3 separate regions of the Homo sapiens genome follow, and all the other regions are linked to region 1. Evidence: promoter capture Hi-C in human tissues and cell types (Jung and others, 2019). All regions are on one chromosome and are shown on one strand. The core of a region is centred on a gene start or on the middle of the fragment in contact, and the rest is flanking DNA. Distances in the headings are between cores, read along the strand shown.

The links. The method cuts DNA at HindIII sites, captures the fragments that hold promoters and counts their contacts. A contact is called where the count stands out against the background at its distance.
Region 2: a contact is called between a fragment that was not itself captured here and the fragment with the promoter of SLC1A2 in region 1, in 1 of the 25 tissues and cell types used here (dorsolateral prefrontal cortex).
Region 3: a contact is called between a fragment that was not itself captured here and the fragment with the promoter of SLC1A2 in region 1, in 1 of the 25 tissues and cell types used here (dorsolateral prefrontal cortex).

What each region holds. Positions count from the first base shown.
Region 1 is chr11:35,417,871-35,421,591 of GRCh38, reverse strand. It overlaps SLC1A2 (solute carrier family 1 member 2), which reads left to right and starts at 2,034. Exons shown (of 11, transcript NM_004171.4): 1 at 2,034-2,642. The coding sequence starts at 2,626. SLC1A2-AS2 (SLC1A2 antisense RNA 2) reads right to left here and starts at 2,535. Exons shown (of 2, transcript NR_186310.1): 1 at 2,485-2,535; 2 at 590-1,056. RefSeq lists an enhancer at 1,888-2,388. The HindIII fragment of the contact is 13,805 bases long and covers 1-3,721 here.
Region 2 is chr11:34,349,884-34,353,302 of GRCh38, reverse strand. The region is part of intron 1 of ABTB2 (ankyrin repeat and BTB domain containing 2); the gene reads left to right. Among named protein-coding and RNA genes, the nearest start is that of ABTB2, 6.4 kb to the left of the region's middle. RefSeq lists an enhancer at 1,108-1,157. The HindIII fragment of the contact is 5,708 bases long and covers 1-3,419 here.
Region 3 is chr11:36,498,492-36,502,171 of GRCh38, reverse strand. It overlaps TRAF6 (TNF receptor associated factor 6), which reads left to right. Exons shown (of 7, transcript NM_004620.4): 2 at 635-952; 3 at 3,532-3,680. The coding sequence starts at 657. Among named protein-coding and RNA genes, the nearest start is that of TRAF6, 9.9 kb to the left of the region's middle. RefSeq lists an enhancer at 175-1,374. The HindIII fragment of the contact is 4,610 bases long and covers 1-3,680 here.

The DNA of each region.
Region 1 (3,721 bases), core at 785-3,284:
TAGTTCATTCATGCTCATGTTAAGGGGGGTGCTAATAGCAGACTAGTGCTCCTGCGATTATTAATATCTAGGTCTGGGACAGATTGTGATGGCTTCTTTTCCAGTTGCCACCTCAGCAGAAAGGGAAATAGAAAACCCTAACTTGTAAAGTTAGACAATTAGACTGTAAAGTTTGTATATGTGACAACTTCAGATACAAAGACACACACTTACCCTTGACGGGGCTTAAGAGGAGAGTGTCAAACATAATACCAAAGTGAAAGAAGATAGCTCTTCATCTACAAATTATTTTTAAACACATTTACCAGGTTAAACAATAACTAATTTTTCGGAAGAGAAGAGTACCCAAAGTCAAATGCCCTAAGACGAAGAGATGCTTATGGCATTTTTTTTTAAATAAAGAAAATGCAAAGTTAGAGTGGTTCTGAAGGAACCTAGGATGAATAAGGTACAGACATGATTATTCTAATGGTGCAGACAGGATTGAGAGAGAAGGGGGGAGGGGAGAGATGGAGAAAGGCATGGATGGAAGATGACGTTTGGATTCAGATTTTGGAAAGGAGAGTAAAGGAAGGAGGTAAGCAGAGATTTATTTTTTAAATTTTATTAATGTGTTTTCCCCTCTTTTTCTTGTTATTTTTCTCATCTGTCTGTTCATACTTGGATATTTTGTCCAATAAACTATCTTCTAAGGACTCTGAAAATGCACTGAATATTTTTGGAGGGTTTACTGGGTGCCAGACGCCACTTTAGGAGTTTTACATATCCTCTCCATTTCATTTAGTTCTCTTAGCACAGAGAAGTGGGAGAAGATAGTCCCATTTTACAGGTGGGATGAAGAGAGAGATGGAGGAATTTGCCCCAGGTTACTCAGCTAGAAGGTGGTGAAGAACTCAAGCCTTCGGATATCAGCGCCTGGCATTTAACTACCAATCGGTCCTGCTGGGACTCCGGCTCCTCTGGCACCATCCCCGGGACCTACTCAGAGAGTTTGCACGTGGCCGGTCGCGTTCCATCGTCTAACAAGGTCCAGCACAGCGCAAATCCGAAGATCGTCTACCCCGGGGAAAAAGAGAGTCTGTTTAATTCTCCTGTGGCCCTCCAAGTGAGTTCTTTTGGGTTCCATTGCCTAGACGAGGAAAGTGAGGCTTTGCCTGCTCTGCGCTCACAGGGTCGGCAAGTAGTGGGACCCTAGGTTCCTGCAGTATTCCAGAGATAATCAAAGCTGCACAGGTCTCGTCATTTTTATGCAAAGGCGTCCGGAAGGCTCGAACTCTCCCTTGCACAAGCCCATCTGTCTCTGTGCGCCGCCCCCGGGACACGGAAGCAGGCGGCGAGCAGCGCCGAGTGGGTGGAGAACCGTCCCCCGCCACTCACCCCTCGGCCAACTCTCCGCGCCTTCTCAGCCGGCACCCACGAGGCCGACCTCTCTCGGCCTAAAAAAAAAAAAAAAAAATCCCGGCCTCCCCTGCACCCCGCCCGCCGCCCCCAGGGAGCTGCATTAATATTAATCTCGCTGAATAATTGAAGGCCAGAGATTTATTCGAGCTTCGGCGGGGGAGGGAGCGCAGCTGGGCCGCGTTTAGGCTGCACCACCCGCGTGTTTCAGCCGCTCGACTCCGCTGGACCTGGGACCCCCAGACGTGGGAGGATGGGGTGGGTGTGCCTGCCTGTGAGTTTGGGGGTGAGTGTGAGCTGAAGCGGGTGCTCCGGGGAGTGAGGAGGGAGCGCCAGGGGCTGCTCCAGGGAGGCGGAGACGGAGGGGCATCCCGGGTCTCCGCGCGGTCGCCTGCGCTTCACCCCGCACGGGGTGACCTGGGGCCACGCGGGCTTCAGGGGAAACAATAGCTACTCCTTAGATCCTGGGCTCCTGCCACCGGCTGCCCAAGCCTTCCCGGACGAGCGGCGGGGCCTCTTTTCTTATTTGGCTAATTTATGGCGAGAGGCTGGGGGGAGGGATGGCAGAGGAGGGACCGCGACTGGAGATGGGGGCGGGGGGCGGCGGTTAAAGGAGTTGCCCGAGGCGGCGGCGCGGGTGATGTCAGCTCTCGACGAAAATAGAGAGGGATCGCCTGCAAATCCCCAGCTCCGGCGGGGCTAAACCTTGCAATCCCTCCCTGGCCGGCGCCGAGCCAGAGCGCAGCGGCCTCCACCGCCTCCCCAGGCGCGCACACACCCGCACACGCGCACGCACGCTCACCGTCCTCTGCCACCACTCTCTGCTCCCGCCACTCGCCGCGCCCGCGAGCCCCGCAGCAAAGCACAGGTGGCAGCGGCTGCAGGGGCGCATCGCCGGCGTGCGCCCTCCTGCAGCCCTGGGCGCATCGCTCTCTCGGGGAAGCCACCCTCGGAGCCCCCGGAGCTCCCCGCCAAGCGCCATCCCCGCGGGCGGAGGGGAGCGCGGGTCGCGCGCCGTGGAGAGCCGGGACGCGGATTAGCGCCCGCAGGAGCCTCCTGCGCCCGTTGAGGCGCTAAAGGGCTTACCCCGGAGGCGGGTGGAAGGGCGGGCAGAGGCTCCTCTTAAATACCGCTCCCGGCCGCACTTCGCGCTCACCCCGGCGTCCGCTTTCTCCCTCGCCCACAGCTGCCGGATAGTGCTGAAGAGGAGGGGGCGTTCCCCAGACCATGGCATCTACGGAAGGGTGAGGGGATTTTTATCTGTACCCGCGGGAAAGCGGGGTCACGCGCGGGGTGGTGGCGCCCCTATCCGGGATGCGGATAGAGAGGCGGCGGCGGCGGGCCTCGGAGGTGGTGGCGGAGCCGTAGCTTGGCTGGGGATGGGATGGTGGGGAGGGGATTGATTTTCTTTCCTGGAGATTGCTGCTTAATCCTTTGAAAATGCGAGAGGTGGAGGGTTGTTTTATTTTGATAAAAAGGGTAAGGTGCGCTGGGGGCCTGAGAGTGTGAGGAAGAAATCCTCTTGAGGTTACTTTTGGGATTTCAAAACAATAGGGGATTGGGCATAGTGTGAGCAGACACCGGGGTAGCAGCGCCTGGAGCGCGGCGCCCCAGGCCCGAGGCGGGCTTGCAGGTGGTGCCGGCTCGGAAGGAATGAGCCAAGACAGGGCCCTGGGGCGGGGCAAGGACCAGCGCGCGCGGCCTTGAACGCCAGGTTTGCAGAGTCGCCATGGAGATGCTGGGCCCGCTCCGATCGGTCCTTGTCCCTGGAAGGCGGAATCTCCCTGGCTAGCTCTAAGGAAGGGTGGAAGAGATTTGGGTGCTTCCCGGGAGGCGGGAAAACGTGTGGTTTGGGACAAGGGCAGGAGTCGCCAGACTCCAGCGGGCAGGGATAGCATTGGCTTCCCTATTCAGCCCGAGGATCTGGAGTCGTGTCCTGCCTCCCAAGATTCCAGCTGGCATGGGGAAAGCTCCCTCGCAGTGATAACTAAAGACAATTGTCTTTAGCAAGAGACAGAAGGGGCTGCAGGGGGCAAAAGGATTCTTTGAATACTCACACATCAAAGGAAAGGTCCACAGAGTCCTTGGACCAGTATCTCCCAGAAAACTTTTTGGGCTTCGTAGAACCTGAGTGGCAATGAAAAGACTGGGCAGCTCAGCCCTTTGGTTAATTCCCAAAATTGCAGTTACTCACTTGCAAGCGATCACAAAATCCATGTTATGTGAAAAGCAAATATCAGGGGCTTCTCTGGGCTCAAGTGGTGGTGTTGGCATTTTCCAGTTTCTCCTAAGAAATTTTACCAACTCCGCAGGCTTGTTTTAG
Region 2 (3,419 bases), core at 909-3,408, 1.1 Mb after region 1:
ATTCTTCTTACTAAGCTTTTGTGAGTGTCTGTGGCATTTTAGAAAATCTTCCTCAATTTCTAGATTCTTGATTAAGTGATAGGATATTGGTGAGAATATTCTTGCTCCAAAGAAGTATCCAGGGTGTACAAAAGGATTGCTCTATCCTAGTGGTAACATGCACAAGACTTTGGATTCACCATGAGAGTTTGAAGCCTACCTTTGCCATTTATTTTGTTTTATTTTGTTATTTGTTTATTTTGAGACAGAGTCTTGCTGTATCACCCAGGCTGGAGTGCAGTGGTAAAATCGTAGTTCACTGCAACCTTGAACTCCTGGGTTCTAAGGGTTCCTCCTGCCTCAGCCTCCCAAGTGGCTGGGACTGCAGGCATATGCCACCACACCCAGCTAATTTTTAAAATTTTATTTTTGTAGAGACAGGGTCTTGCTATGTTGCCCAGGCTGGCCTTAAACTCCTGGGCTCAAGGGATTCTCCCGCTTCAGCCTCCCAGAGTGCTGGGATTACAGGCATGACCCATCATGCCTGGCCATACACAACTTTGCCATTTACATGAGTGGCCTGGTGCAATTTTCTTAACCATTCTAACCTTCAATTTTGTCATCTGCAAAATGGGACATAGTAAGAGCACCTAGCTTATATGGGTGGTATGAGAATTAAATGAGACTATAGATTGAAAGATCTTAGCACATAGTAAATGCTCAATAAATAGTAAATTCATTCAACAATTATTGAGCACTGACCCTGTACCCACCACTGTTAAAAGTGCTGTGGACTAAGTGATGAACAAGGGGAAAAGCCCTCCTCTCATGAAGTTTATAATCCAGTGGAGGAAATGAGAAAAAGTAAATAAGCAAGGATTTTCTCTTGGTAATGAGTGTTGTTTAAAATATTTTTTTTAAAGGGCAGGGTAATGGGATGGTGTGACGGGGCTAATTTAAATGACAGTCAAGGAATGCTTCTCTGAAGGTTTATTAGTAATAGCCAGTAATATCAATACTACTAAGGACCTTTAGGCCAAAAATAGTGACTGAGGACTTTTCTGAATGATTCAGTTATTCACCAGCTGAGAGAAGTCTCAACATCTCACTTAGAGCTGAGAAAGAAAAGGGCTGCATGTAGAGCAGGGACGAAACCTCTTCTGGTTGTGGGATTTATTTAGTGATGAGATTGTAGGATGAATTTCTACTGAGAGAAGCAACTGAAGCAGCAAGGGTTGATTGAGCTTGTCAGGTGGTGTTTAATCAGTTTCCACACCTGGGTAGTCTGAAGGATGAGGGCTGCTTCCTATCTCTTTAACCATTTTATTAAAGCCAAGAGAGTTGGTAAAACTGAAACAGAGCAAGCTTTGGAAATGAAAAATTTTTTTTTCTCGCACGCCTGAGAAAGGCAACCCTAGCCTTAAGTAGTAAGAGGAACAAGGTAGAGTTGTTCCACTTCCTCCTACTGAAAGCTCTACCTGACTCCCCCAGCTGGAAGAGCCACCCCTTTGTGATGTTTCCTCAGCACCCAGGACATATTCTTAAATCATTTCCTGCTTGTGTGTGTCTCTCCCATAAAACTGTGCACTTCATAGGCATTGCTGTCTTCCCTGTACCTCTCATGGTGTCTACAATATGTGCTCTATAAATGATGGGCAAATGATAGATCCCGCCATACAGGTTTAAAATTTGTATTTGAATTCCTTTGATATATCAGAACCGTCCCCATTTCTACCAAGGCAGAAAATTTCCAAGTTGTTCTCAATGAATAGAGTCAGCATTTTGGGGCTACATCCAACCTTTGGGTACCCTGCTTTCTAGCAGGGTTCCCAAGTCTGGCTTTGATGTGCAAGATGTGAGTTGGGGGAATTTTCAGTTTAGGAGAATGTCTTCAGTGTACAATACCCAAGAGGAAGGGCTTCACAACAGACGTCTGGTACAGCAGGCCACAGAAAAGTCAACAGGAGGATTGAGTTGAAGGTTTCCTTAAGAATGGAAATACCAACCGCCCCCTTGCCAACAGAGCTGCCCCAGAGGACAATTTATGTTGATGACTATTGCTCAGAAGAGTTTACATCTGTGTCCCACTCCATCTGCCTCCAGTCTGAGGACTGAACCAAGGTAATCAATTGCCAAGACATTCCTGGGTTGGCATCCCAAGAATGGGAAGTTCTGAAACAAACCAGAGACACTTGGTTGCACATCCTCAGCTTTGTCCTTATCCCACCTCACCATCAGTATTCATCCTTTGTCCGACAGGTCAGTGGGTAGATGCTTCGCCTCTATTTCTACTCTTATGCAGCTGTAGTAATAGGTCTGACTTTTCCACAACACCTCAAGCTTATTCTCATCTGTGAGCTTTCTAGGTCCCCATGAGAATCCTGTGAATGTGTGTCCTTTCACTGAGAGGTCTCCATGAGTCCAGAATTCACAGCTCAATAATAACTAAGCTCAATAATGACTAAGTCCCATTTTGCTCAAGCCCCAGGCCTGTGCTTTTCCTATAAAGAATTACAGAATCCAAGGTAGCAAATACAGGTCAGTACTTGGCCCCATTCAGATGGCAGCTAGGGTCAAACTCATAGCAAGAACAACACTTGTTATAGGTCTTGTTTGTTAATGGCCTATGGTGTCCAGACACTTTACATTTGTTAGGCCAGTGAGTGTTCACGACCACAGTGAAAGAGCAGGCACTGACACCCAGGGGTGTATCTTCCTCCAAAGGTTGCTGTTACTCTGTTTAAATGCTGCTTGCTGGCTCTCCCCACCCTAGAGGTGCCACTGATTTTAAAGAGCCATTATTGCTGCTCCTGGGGATGGAAGAAGAGGGCACAGAGAGCTCTGCTGCCCAGGGAGGGCCTTTATAAGTGTCACCTGCTGGTGACCAATAAGCTCAGCTGAATAGAGAAGCCGCAGAGTACACTGCGATGCTCTTCTAAAGGATGGGCGGGTCAGCTCAGCAAAGGCTAATACATGAAGGAGAGAAGGCACCAAGAGGGATTTGAGTCTAGGTCACTGGTCTTGGGGAGCTTGGTGCACCTGTCCTGGAGTTGGCAGAAGAGCCTGTATGAAGGGGGCTTTGATTTCCTCCGAGTCCCCCATGGTGTCCGGCTGCTGACTCCATCTCGGTGTTTAGAGCACAGGGAGAGAATGAGTCAGCGATGTAGCAAAGCAGTGAAGGGCCCAGACTTTGGAGTCTGAATTGAGTCCCAGATTGATTTGCCTCTTACTGACCTAGGCCTTCAAGCAAGTCACACTATGTTTCTATTTCCTCTACTGTAAAATGAGAGGCTTGTACACATGCGGTTGTGCCTTATGCATACTCAGTGCCCTGGGATGTGAGAGATGCAGCCAGGCTTACTGGTGAGAGCACAGCACGGGGTGGGGCTGCCTGGCTGTAATTCCTCATAACTTCACTTGGGAGCTGTGTGACCCTGGGC
Region 3 (3,680 bases), core at 385-2,884, 1.1 Mb before region 1:
TAGAAGAAAAAACCAAGATCTAAATGGTTAAGTAACTTGCACTAAATCACACATCTAACAGTGGCACATGATCACCTGATTCCTTGCGTACTGCTTTTCCTGGCACTGAGCTGCTAGCCATACTATTCCCTTCAGCTCAGGATACTTCAAGGAACTTCAACAACATGGATAAGTTCTTTAGCGATGCTTAGTGAACACTTACTGTATGAAAAATCGTGTGCTAAGTACTGCGGAAATGGAAATTAAAATATTTAGCTCAATCACAGGAAACAAACATGTAAACAGATAATTGTGATATAGAAGAGTATTACAACTGAGGTGCTTCTCCTTTTTTAACTTTATATGCTGTCGTTCTACTAGATCATGAACTTCTGAAGGGACCCAGCTTTCTTTGTGTGCTCCAAGTGATTTGCACAAATAATAATATATATATTTATTGAAGGAGAGAATCAGGTAACTTATAATAGTCATGAAAAAGCTCAAAACACTTTTAAAAGTTTTCTGTAAATAACATTAATACAGCTGATGTACATGAATTAAAAAGTGACTTGTATAGATAAGCTATGATATATATGTGTGGGGTGTGAGTGTGTGTGTTACTTATAAAGGCATTTTTTTCTTGCTATTTCTACAGAGCAAGTGATAATCAAGTTACTATGAGTCTGCTAAACTGTGAAAACAGCTGTGGATCCAGCCAGTCTGAAAGTGACTGCTGTGTGGCCATGGCCAGCTCCTGTAGCGCTGTAACAAAAGATGATAGTGTGGGTGGAACTGCCAGCACGGGGAACCTCTCCAGCTCATTTATGGAGGAGATCCAGGGATATGATGTAGAGTTTGACCCACCCCTGGAAAGCAAGTATGAATGCCCCATCTGCTTGATGGCATTACGAGAAGCAGTGCAAACGCCATGCGGCCATAGGTTCTGCAAAGCCTGCATCATAAAATCAATAAGGTACGTGAGCATAAGAAAAAATGGTGTCCTATAACAGAACCAGATGCAGAGAACATTGTTACATAGAACATGGAACATCCCAAAAGTAGTCTTACACATAAAAAGCTACTTAGGAAAAAAGAACAATGGACAGAAAATTGAGAAAGTTAGATTCTTATCCCAGTTTCCACTGTTGTGTGAAAAGTGACTTGAATCTCCTCCTCTCTTGACCCTTGGATAAATAAGTAAATAATTTGCTACTTTTACTTAAAGCAATTCTAATGCAGACTGGGGAGTGACTCTATGCTTTAAAGAAAATAGTATTTTTTAAATGTACCTTAAATTATGATGCTACTAGATAAGGATAATCTCAACCACACAAAGAATACTGACTCTGTAAGTGATCAGTTATTGTGATTTTAGGCATGTTAAATCTTGTTTATTACCTAAAGTGTATGGTCAACTGTAAAATTACCAGTATTTTTAAAGAAAGTATTAACTGAAGGCTCTACCTTCATAATATATCCAAAATCCAGTCCCTTCTCACTTCCTCCCTCTGCTACCACCCTGTTGTGACTCACCACCAGCTCTCTAACAGGCCTCCTGCTTTCTATTCTTGTCTTCCAGGCTGTTCTCAATACAGCAGCGGGAGTGGACCTAGTAAAATAAGTAAGATGATGTCATCTCTGCTCAGACCATTGTAGCAGGGTATCTGGGAGTAAAAGCTAAAATCCTTATAAGACCCTGTGTGATAGGCCCATGATTCATTTCCTGACCTCTTTTCTGCTGCACTCTTTGTCCTTCTACCCATTCATTCCCTCTTTGCTATCCCTTGAACATGTCAGGCATGCTCCTGCCTTGGTGAGTGGTGGCTTTAGCTCTTCTGTTTGTAACACTCTTGCCACAGCTAACCCCTTAACTCTTCCACTTTGGCTCAAATCTCACCTTCTCATAGGTCCCCTCACCACCGTATTTATACCACAGCGTGGTTCCACCTTTCTTGCCGAACAATCCCAATCTCTCCACCTGGCCCTAATTTTCTTTTTTCCCTTAGCACTTTCTGCCTTCTAAAGCACCAAATAATTTATGTGTTTATTGTCTGCCCCACTGGATGATAAGCTCCTTGAGAGCAAAGTATTAGATCTGTTTTATTTCTTGATTTTTCCCAAGTTCTGGAAATAGTGCCTGACCCATAGTAGATGATCAGTAAATCATGGTTGCTTTAACTGAATGAAAGTACTTGCAATTTCCATGGAAATAGATACATTTTACTATAATTCAAAAGTACATGGGAATTTTGTAGGTAACTAAGGAGTCCTATACAGGACAAAAAATTGGATGAAGGGGGGCAGATTTTATGTTCTTCAATAAATAGCCATCTAGTTATATTAGTGAATTCATTATAAGTCTGTCCTGGCAATTTGTTAGTCTCCAAAGTTTTTATCTGCCAACTTTTACATTAACTTTTCTATAAAACTTGAATTTAAGAGTAACTACATCCATACTCGGGACTTGGCTTAATTTAAATCACAAAAGATAATGTCTGCTGTTTCAATTTTGGGGAAAGATGTATTACACAGCGCTGACTTAACAAGATCTATTTTGGGTAGATTTTTCTCAACCTCCACATTATTTTATTTTTGAGATGGAGTCTTGCTCTGTCTCCCAGGCTGAAGTGCAGTGGCGCGATCTCGGCTCACTGCCATGCCCAGGAAGGTAGCTAATCTTCAGCAGCTTTTTAATAGCAAGATGTTCATGAAAGTAGTGGGACAGTGGTCTGAAAAGGAAATACAACCCACAAAAAGAAGTCTGAGGCTTTTTTTTTTCTGTCTCCCTGTAAGCTTTTTAAAAATGAACACTTAGCCCCAGTGTTCTTAAAGGAACTGCTCTGAAATTTCTCATTGAGTATGTTCACTCAAGGAATCAAAGTGCATCTCAATACAATCCCATTTTCTTTTTCTGAGGATAGTTTTTTCCATCATAAGAAAGAATAAACCACTGAGAAGCAGGACATAGAGGTCCTTTAACTTTCTGTAACATTGGACCCTAGACATACAAATAAAGGAAACTTTTGTTGCCTGTTAGCTGGAGTGTTATAGTGACTATTTCAGAGTAAACTTTAAAATGTGACCTCACGGAGGTACTGCTAAGTGCTTAAATTTTTACTTATGACTGAGCAATTGCATTATAGACATGTTATTGGTACTGTGAGCAGCATATTCCATCTTTCTAGTGTATTATATAGGTGTGACAACACAGAGGCCAGACTGCCAAAATTCCCATTCTTTCACTTCATTTTGTACCAATCAAAATACCTTATTCAGCTAATTTTTCTCAAAAAGCTGGAATCTATCCCACCATATAAAAATCCCTTAGCTTTTGATAGGTTATCAGTATGCTAGTTGTACTCATTTCATAAAAGAACAGTTTGTAAGCTCTCCATAAAAGGACAGTTTGTTTTGGTGACCTGCAATATAATATGTTAAATTGTTTTTACTTATGAAACAGTAAATGGAGAATTTATATATGGTGAATTAAAGTTGTTTGGATTTTCTAATGTGAGTCTTTAAATCTAATTGTGTGTATTTTGTTTCTGTTAGGGATGCAGGTCACAAATGTCCAGTTGACAATGAAATACTGCTGGAAAATCAACTATTTCCAGACAATTTTGCAAAACGTGAGATTCTTTCTCTGATGGTGAAATGTCCAAATGAAGGTTGTTTGCACAAGATGGAACTGAGACATCTTG